Linked DNA regions of Homo sapiens: regions 1 and 2 are each linked to region 3. The links are contacts of gene promoters, found by promoter capture Hi-C in blood cells and fetal thymus (Javierre and others, 2016). All regions are on one chromosome and are shown on one strand. Each heading gives the region's core, a stretch centred on a gene start or on the middle of the fragment in contact. The rest is flanking DNA. Distances are from core to core; before and after follow the strand shown.

What was found. The method cuts DNA at HindIII sites, captures the fragments that hold promoters and counts their contacts. A CHiCAGO score of 5 or more calls a contact.
Region 1: a contact is called between the fragment with the promoter of FBXO4 here and a fragment that was not itself captured in region 3, in 4 of 17 cell types (monocytes, M0 macrophages, total B cells and 1 more). The highest score is 6.7, in monocytes.
Region 2: a contact is called between the fragment with the promoter of OXCT1-AS1 here and a fragment that was not itself captured in region 3, in 1 of 17 cell types (total CD8 T cells). The highest score is 6.6, in total CD8 T cells.

Annotation. Positions count from the first base shown.
Region 1 is chr5:41,924,017-41,926,716 of GRCh38, forward strand. It overlaps FBXO4 (F-box protein 4), which reads left to right and starts at 1,265. Exons shown (of 7, transcript NM_012176.3): 1 at 1,265-1,482. The coding sequence starts at 1,294. RefSeq lists a silencer at 1,523-1,702. The HindIII fragment of the contact is 6,278 bases long and covers 1-2,700 here.
Region 2 is chr5:41,868,712-41,871,411 of GRCh38, forward strand. It overlaps OXCT1-AS1 (OXCT1 antisense RNA 1), which reads left to right and starts at 1,319. Exons shown (of 3, transcript NR_046635.1): 1 at 1,319-1,481; 2 at 1,580-1,671; 3 at 2,055-2,700. OXCT1 (3-oxoacid CoA-transferase 1) reads right to left here and starts at 1,714. Exons shown (of 17, transcript NM_000436.4): 1 at 1,570-1,714. The coding sequence starts at 1,647. LOC102723752 (a long non-coding RNA gene) reads left to right here. Exons shown (of 3, transcript XR_925956.4): 1 at 1-891. RefSeq lists enhancers at 1,351-1,430, 2,261-2,310. The HindIII fragment of the contact is 3,584 bases long and covers 1-2,066 here.
Region 3 is chr5:42,950,087-42,952,786 of GRCh38, forward strand. LOC105374745 (a long non-coding RNA gene) reads left to right here and starts at 803. Exons shown (of 3, transcript XR_925964.3): 1 at 803-2,700. RefSeq lists enhancers at 337-1,536, 581-875, 637-696, 673-1,195, 673-817 and 2 more, a cis regulatory region at 740-750 and a silencer at 987-1,086. The HindIII fragment of the contact is 4,864 bases long and covers 1-2,700 here.

The sequences.
Region 1 (2,700 bases), core at 15-2,514, 1.0 Mb before region 3:
AGATGATAGGTCTGGGATTTGTTTCAAAAGGATCCAGAATTGGGGGTGTAGTATTAGGTGAGTATAGCAACAGCACAAGATTAACCAGGTGTTGGTAATGGAATCTTGGATACTGGGCACACAGGAGCATATTATTCACTCTCCTTTTATAAATGTTCAAAATTTTCCGTAATAAAGTTTTTCTCATTCATTTAACAGATATCATTTTAATACTTTATACTTGAACTGATTTTTTTTCTTGCTCTAGTTCGTTTTTTGCTCTCAAAGTAAATCGTGTCCTAGAAAGTGATGAGAAATGCCATATGGTTAATCCGTGGTCCTTGTCCAGATTGCCTCCCAAAAACGAGGCTGCAATTTTATTGGTTATTGGCCCCTACCAACAACATGCAAATAATAAAATGTAATGAAACTTAAACTTGTATGTTACAGAGCCTTGCAGAACCTTAGTTATCAGGCTTTCTTGGATTCTGTTGACATTTAGATCCTCAGAGATTTACTTTTTGAATGTATACATACCCAGTTCTATGTAACAGATTAACTTGTAATACGTTCTCTTAAAGCACTTTTAAAGTAAGCCCAAAGTAAGTAGAATGGGCATCTGGTTTGAGAATTAAAAAACTCACTAGTGGGATTTCAACACCACCACATCTGGGTTCTTCTAGCCGTTTTTTGCCGCCCTTGCAAATTTTAAATGTGCTTATATTTTTGCATAGTGGGTCCAGACTTCTCATTTTGGCAAAAGGTTCTTTGTAATTGGCCCGCTGACTGCCTCTCTAGTCTGTTTTTGCTGATACTCAAGAAAATAAATGGTAACTTGGTGATTGAGGAAATAACACACACAAAAAACACCCCATACGTAGTATGGTAGTGCTGAAAAGGAAGCAAGTGGTTATTAAGCCCAAGACAGTGGCAGAGGTCTATCGAACAAGCGGAGTCGCCTAGGACCAGGCATAGTGGAAATGATCCCGGAGAGAACATCTTGAATGAAGCCAGGAAGTCAGCGGGCCAGAGGTTGTACAGGGGCTCTGCGGTTGGCGTGGCTGAGGTTGAGGCCACAAGTTACTGGGGAAGTTAATTGTTGACAGGAGCTTCGTACTCGGCTCACAGCCACGCACAGTGGGCTTCCTCCCAGTACCCGCCCTTGCCCCTGGGCCTAACCCTGCCCTGGAGGCGGACTCGCGGGAGAAGCGGGAGGCGGAACGCCCGAGGGCGCCCTCGGCTGGCGCGGAGCTGCGCAGGAGGCTGACGCGCTAGCGTGGCTCTAAGACGCGTCACCCACGCTGCGGGCAAGCCATGGCGGGAAGCGAGCCGCGCAGCGGAACAAACTCGCCGCCGCCGCCCTTCAGCGACTGGGGCCGCCTGGAGGCGGCCATCCTCAGCGGCTGGAAGACCTTCTGGCAGTCAGTGAGCAAGGAGAGGGTGGCGCGTACGACCTCACGGGAGGAGGTGGATGAGGCGGCCAGCACCCTGACGCGGCTGCCGGTGAGCGTCGGCCGCAGGCCGCGGAGGACAGTGGGGCCGGCCCGGGCCGGAGGGACCTCCCCTGGAGCCCCCCGGGGCCTGGGGAACTCTCGCGCCCCGGCCTGGGTCTGGCTCCGTCCATGCAGCCATTCCTGGCAGTGTAGTCACCGAGAAGCTACAGTTGATCAGAAGCGTCTTGGCGTGGACCCTGGTGCTCCGCAGGGGGCCCGAACATCTCAGGGAAGCACCTTCATGGGGCCCCTGGGGACCCTCCCGATCGCCCTCAGGTTTTCCACCCGCCAAAACAGGCACATGTGACTAGGACACCCTGAATGTCCGGTTACGGAAATGAGACAGTTCCCAACTTGCTGATTAGCTTGGGAAAGCATTCCAGCGTCCCTGTTCCCAGCGTCTTTGATTCCGGATCACTGTACCAAAACACTTGGAGGGCCAAGGTTTTTACCCTCTCAAGAGGACATTGTGCCTGTGGCTGTTATTGTGTATTTGAAGAAACAAAACGGCCCCTCAGTTGAAAATAAATGACTTAAGTTACAAGTGCCTCAAGTTACATCAAGGCCACGAGAATGACACACATAACTTATTGTTAAACTTTGGGGTAGATAGGTAAATGAAGAGAACAAAAATTATTGAAAATTATTACAATTCTTTGTCTCATTTGGACTATTGACACCTCTCTCCAATGTGTATATCAACGTGAAAGCTGCAGGTTTAGAATGCCTCCAAGTTTCTCCTTGCAGAGGTTTTTCATAACATTTTAATAGATTCTGTAGAGGAACTAAGATGACAAATTTACGGCCGGGCGCGGTGGCTCACGCCTGTAATCCCAGCACTTTGGGAGACCCAGGTGGGCGGATCACGAGGTCAGGAGATCAAGACCATCCTGGCTAACACGGTGAAACCCCGTCTCTACTAAAAATATAAAAAATTAGCCGGGCTTGGTGGCAGGCGCCTGTAGTCCCAGCTACTTGGGAGGCTGAGGCAGGAGCATGGCGTGAACCTGGGAGACGGAGCTTGCAGTGAGCCGAGATCTTGCCACTGCACTCCAGCCTGGGCGACAGAGCGAGACTGTGTCTCAAAAAAGAAAAAGACAAATGTACACTCTTTGATTTGGTCTGATGATAAAATCAGATAAAGGTTGATATGGGTTTTATTTTGAAGGACAAATTATTTCCTTAACTAATTTATGTAACTAACTGGTATATCCAAATATCTCTGAGG
Region 2 (2,700 bases), core at 69-2,568, 1.1 Mb before region 3:
GACTCCGTCTCAAAAAAAAAAAAACAATAAGGGCACTAAGAGCCACAAGCTAGGGGAATAGTGGAAGGCAGGAGTTAGACCTATGATAATCAAGCCTGACAGGGCTAAGTTTGAACTCTGTATGAACTTTTAATGAGATATAGCAGAACCCCTTATTTGCATCTCGTCCCTCTAAGATGAGGTTTGCTGAGCTTCGGAAATGGTTTAATGATATACTCAAGATGGAAAAGACTTGAAGTGAGTAAATTACAGTTGGGCAAATCAGTAACTGTCAAAAGAAGGAACGTTCCTGACCTCGGCCCAAGGGTATCGCTGTGCTCTGGTTTGTATTAGCTTCAGCACCGCTGCAATCTCACTGAAGGTCAAGTTCCCTTTTAATAATGCTTTATATATCCAAGTCTATCTGCAGTTATAAAAATGCTTCCTAAGAGGCATTTAAGAGTAAAATGGTCCAGTTCTGAACCATTCCCTAGCACCTACCGAAGGAGCTCAGTGGCTCCTCTGTGTTCTCAGCGGTCAGGGATTGGATGCAGGAAAGAGCAATGGGGCCAGGCAGGCACGCTTCAGGAGTAAGCACCGTGTGCATGGCACGCTGTCAAGCTCAGACCTATTACTGAATACCAAGGAAGAGGCTCCCGCGATTGAGACGGCGGGGATAAAGCCACCCTCCTGGACCTGGCGCTCTGGTCCTGTAATTCGCTCCTAGGGCTCCAGACAGGGGTGGGCTTACAAGCGAGGACAGTGCATAAGGCAAAACCACAAGTCAGTCCACGGTGGGAATGCCTCCGGATACCACTCGGTGGAGAGTCGGCAGTGGGGCACAAAAAGGATTTCAAAGGGCTCTGAAAACCGAAAGCCCCTAACCCGGATACGAGGGGCCTCGAGAGAAAGGTTTGTCCTCCCCTGCAGCCCAGGCGCGGGCCAGGGACACACCTCGGATGGTTTCCCAGCTTGGCCGGCAAGACGCCCTGGCGAGCGCTCCAGTCTACGGGGCAGCAGAGCCAAATAGGGAGGAGAGGATGGGAGCGGCATTCCACACCCGCCGCACCCGGCATCCAGCCCCGGTGAACTCGAGCAGAGCCATGGCTAACCCAGCCTCAGGTTCTGGGCCTCTAGAGGTTCCTCTGCCCAGAGATCCAACATCGGGGGCGCAAACCTACCCGCTGTTGCCTCACTCCTAAACCTCCATATACTGGCGCCCTCCTCCCCCCGTTCAGACCCTCAGAGTCCCTATCCAAGGGCGGGTGCCAGGAGGGAAGCCGACGAGCGCCAAAGGGCTCGGGAGCGCTGCCAGGAGTCCTCCCGCCCCTTCTCAGCCTCTCCGCGCGCTTCTTTATCGCGTCTCGCTCCATCAGGGAAGCGACTGCAGAACCAAGCAAAGGCGGTCATCCGAGGGGCCGGCGAGGCCAGGAACGCGTCGCCGCGTGTCCGTGACCAGGGCACCGCGCCACGGATGCCAGATCCCAGGCTGGAGAGAGCGGGTAGGGGCAGAGAAGAAAACGCGGGCACCACTCAGGGTTTGGTCCACGTTCTTCCTGCCCATGGCCTTCCTCTTCCCCCGCACTTTACCTTGTACCAGGTTGCCCCAGATCCGCGGGCAGAGGCGCAGAGCCGAAGCCCGGAGGAGAGGAGTTTGAGAGCCGCCATCTTCGGGCGGTGAGGCAGGAGGAGGCTGCGGGTTGGAGCGCGCGTTTGAGCGTCGGTGCGCGACTGCGAAGGAAACCCGGGCGGGCTGGAGGCTCGACAGCGCGTCGATGACGTCCTCCCGGCCTTTCGAGCCGCACGCCACCGGCGCGCTGCTGGCTGCTGCTTTTAAAAGAAGTGAGGCTGGGCGGGGCCCCGGCGGGGAGAAGAGGCTCTGTGCAGCCGGGGCGGATCGCGGGGAAGTTCCTCTCAGCGCCTCAGGTGTCTGGGCGTGTGCAGCTGTGTTGGCGCACACTTGCCGCTACAGCCCTTCTGTCAGCCCTTTAGCTTCGATGGGGCGCTGGTGGCCGCCTCCCCCTAGGTTGTGGATGAGTCTTGGCCTAGGGTTCAGGGCCCTCCGGCCGCGGGAGGATCTCCCGCCAAGCTTGTTGCTTTTCCAAGTTAGTGCCTGGCGTGTGTGTGGGCTGCATAGGGGCACCCCTCGAGGCCCCCTTCTCTTCTCCCGCCTGGACTGCGTTCACGTTTCTAACATTTCTCAGCCCCTTCTCCCCACATCTGGCCTTGGCTTACATAGAGTAAGTTTGCTGTGAGCACTTGCCTCGAACTGTCGGTCAAGAGGTGTGAGCAACAAGGCTTGCAGAGGAACAAGATTAAGACTGGACCTCTGTGACCTGAGTTTAGCACACCTTTTCTTCCCCATCATCCAAGTTTGCGAATTTCGGGCTCTTTCTCGCACTGGAGTCCCAGCAACCCCAGAGATTACTAAAGATGCAACCATAAAAGCAGTATATTGCTTTAACCTTAGGCAAGTTAGATAACTTCCCTAAGCCTCAGTGTCCTCATCTGCAAATTAGGATTGCTTGTGATACAACGTCATAACGTTTCTATGAGTTAATTCATGCAAAGTTTATGGCCTTATTATGAGGAGTCAATAAATGTTAGGCATTATTATAAGTTTATTCCATTGTAGCAGTTCATTGACATGGCACGTACATATTCGCCAAGCCTTGTCTTTTGACCAACTCCTTGAGGACATGAGCCACGACTGATTTCTCC
Region 3 (2,700 bases), core at 152-2,651:
AGACATTTAAAATCAGTAGAAAAAAATACATAACATTTAAATAGAAATACAATTTAAAAATAATAGAAGCCTAAAATGCAAGTAGAAATGAAAGGCAAGCACATCGGTAATGTCGTTCTCAGAGCAAGACACAAAAAGACAATTAAAAAATAAGCAAAAATTGCTGACAACCATTCCTACAAAGAAGAAATTACAAATGTTTGTAATGCAATCCTACGATTAGGATATCCCTATCCGATCTAAACCAGTACATGTTACACCTAAGTCTAAATTTCCTACCAAATTAAATAAATAAATAAATAACAGTCATGGTTAAACCTGTTTAGCTTAGACTATAAAATGGTAGGAAAAAAAGTCGCTTTCGGCGGGACTTGCTATTGTCAACTGGGGCTTGGCAAAACTGAAAAATCCCGTTTGCCTGCATTTCCTGACTTCCAGGGGAGTTTAAAAAACACAGGCCTAGCTAAGGCGGGACCCGCTATTGTGAAACCAAACTTAGTATAAGAGCTCCCAGGCCCTGCTAAACTGGTCATCGCTAAGCAAAAAAAAAAAAAAAAACCGCATTCGCTGGTACCCAGATTTCTACAGGAGTTAAACGTCTCCTGAGCAGCTAAAGCAGAGCTTACTAGTAAGAAACTTGCAATGACTAAGGAACTTGAGGCAGGGCTAACCCGGGGTTGTTAGGATTAGAATTCCGAGGCTACAGGAAACCCGGAATTGCTGAGATGTGAGTCACAGGGTGACTCAGCCTCGTTACGATGAAACAGTAACTTCCTACTACCTAGAAATCGCAGCCAGGGCCAGACCGGTGTTTGTCCTAAGTCGGAACTTGATTGGGCTGAGAAATCACATTGTGACTATTCCACGACTTGAACAAGGGGTAGAAATCGCAGGCACCGCGAAATAGAAACTTCCTAGGACCAAGAAGCCAACGACGCCCGAAACCGTGGGGTCCTGTCACAGAAACCCCAGCAGCGCAGCCACCGGACTGGGTTCTGGAGGCCGAGCCGCAGTCCGTGCGGCGGCGCTGGGAAGAGAAGGCGCCCCGGCAGCTCCCCTGCCACCGGCCCCGAGGAGCGGCTGGCTCCCCCAGCCCAGCGCCGCCGCCGCCCGGTAACTCCAGGCGCAACTGGGCGCAACTGGGGCAGCTGCGACACCGAATCCCTCACATCTGCAACCTGGGTGCTGCGGCCACTGAGAAAATGGAGGCGCAGACCAACGAGCGGTGCCGCGACCGAGAGACCTCGGCTGGCGAAATGGTGGTGCCGGGAGCCTGCGAGTGACGCCAGCCGGCGGGGTTGTCAAGGACAACATTCGTTTTGACGCAGCCAATGGCGCCGTCACCAAGAAACCATCGACTCTGAGAAAAAAGAGAGGTTCGGCCACCGAGAAACTCCGTACGACAAGTGCTGTGGCAGAAAAACCGCCTACTCCGCGCCACAGGCAAAACAGCCAATGGAAACCCCAGGTGCTGCGACCGTGACACCGGCACTAGAGGGTCTCGGATGGAGAAAGCGGCGCACGGAGACCAGGAAACTATGTGTAGCACAACTAGCAGAAAACCGTCTGGTCGGCCATCCGGGAGAAAGCGCGGATCAGAAACAAGCGACTTCGATGCAGGGAACCGCGCAGCCACTGAAGAAAGTGACCCACGTGGCAGTGGTGCCAGCGAAACACTGCAGTTTGGACGGCAGCTGTGGGGATGCCACAGAGAAACATGCACTGCCACTGAAGTACATCCAGCTCCGCGGAGCTAGTGTTCATATGATCAAGAAACCGCCAGTTGGGCTCTGCTAGAAACTTTTAGTCCTCCCTTAACGGCTATCCTACCCACAACAGACAATGCCTTTACCCAGCACCTAGCGGTGCTGAGACCCGCCTGGGCCAGCACAGAGCGCAGAGCAGTACGGGTACGGAGAAACGCCGGACTCAGTGAAACCAGCCTTGCCTCCAGCGGATTCCCCGGCTTCGCCGGACGCCACAGGCAGAGTGCCGCGGGGAAACCTCTGGCTCCCTAAACCGATTAGATTGTGGGAGTGGGGGGGACACTCACAAGTTGTGTGGAAGGGAACCAGCGGCAATGGGACCCGGCGAGCACTTGCCCGCAGCAAATGCCTGCGCTGCTGCAAAAAAAACAACTTTTGGCGCAAAGAATGTTGCGGCCAGAGAGCATCCGCTGTCGCTGACAAAGGAGTAGCAATGGCAATGAGAAACCGCCGGCGCCACGGCCGACCGCGGCGGCTCACGCCTATGATCCTTGCAGTTTGGGAGGCCGAGGTGGGCGCATTACTTGAGATCAGGAGACTAGCCTGGCCAACAAGGTGAAACCCCATCTCTACTAAAATACAAAAGATTAGCCGGTTGTGGTGGCAGGCACCTGTAATCCCAGCTACTCCGGAGGCTGAGGCAGAAGAATCGATTGAACTCAGGAGGCAGAGGTTGCAGTGAGCCAAGATCGCGCCACTGCACTCCAGCCTGGGAGACAGAGTGAGCTCCGTCTCAAAAAAAAGAAAGAAACCGCTGGCGCCGGGAAAGGAGCCGTGCAGCGATGGACCCATGGTGCGCTCCGTGCTACCAAAGTGCTGTGGCCTCTACCCACTCTCGATTCCCAAGGCTGTTTTTCGGGCTTAGGGAAGTCTGTTATATTTTTATTTCTGCTTCTTTCTTTTCTTTCTTTTATTTCTTTCTTTCTTTTTCTTT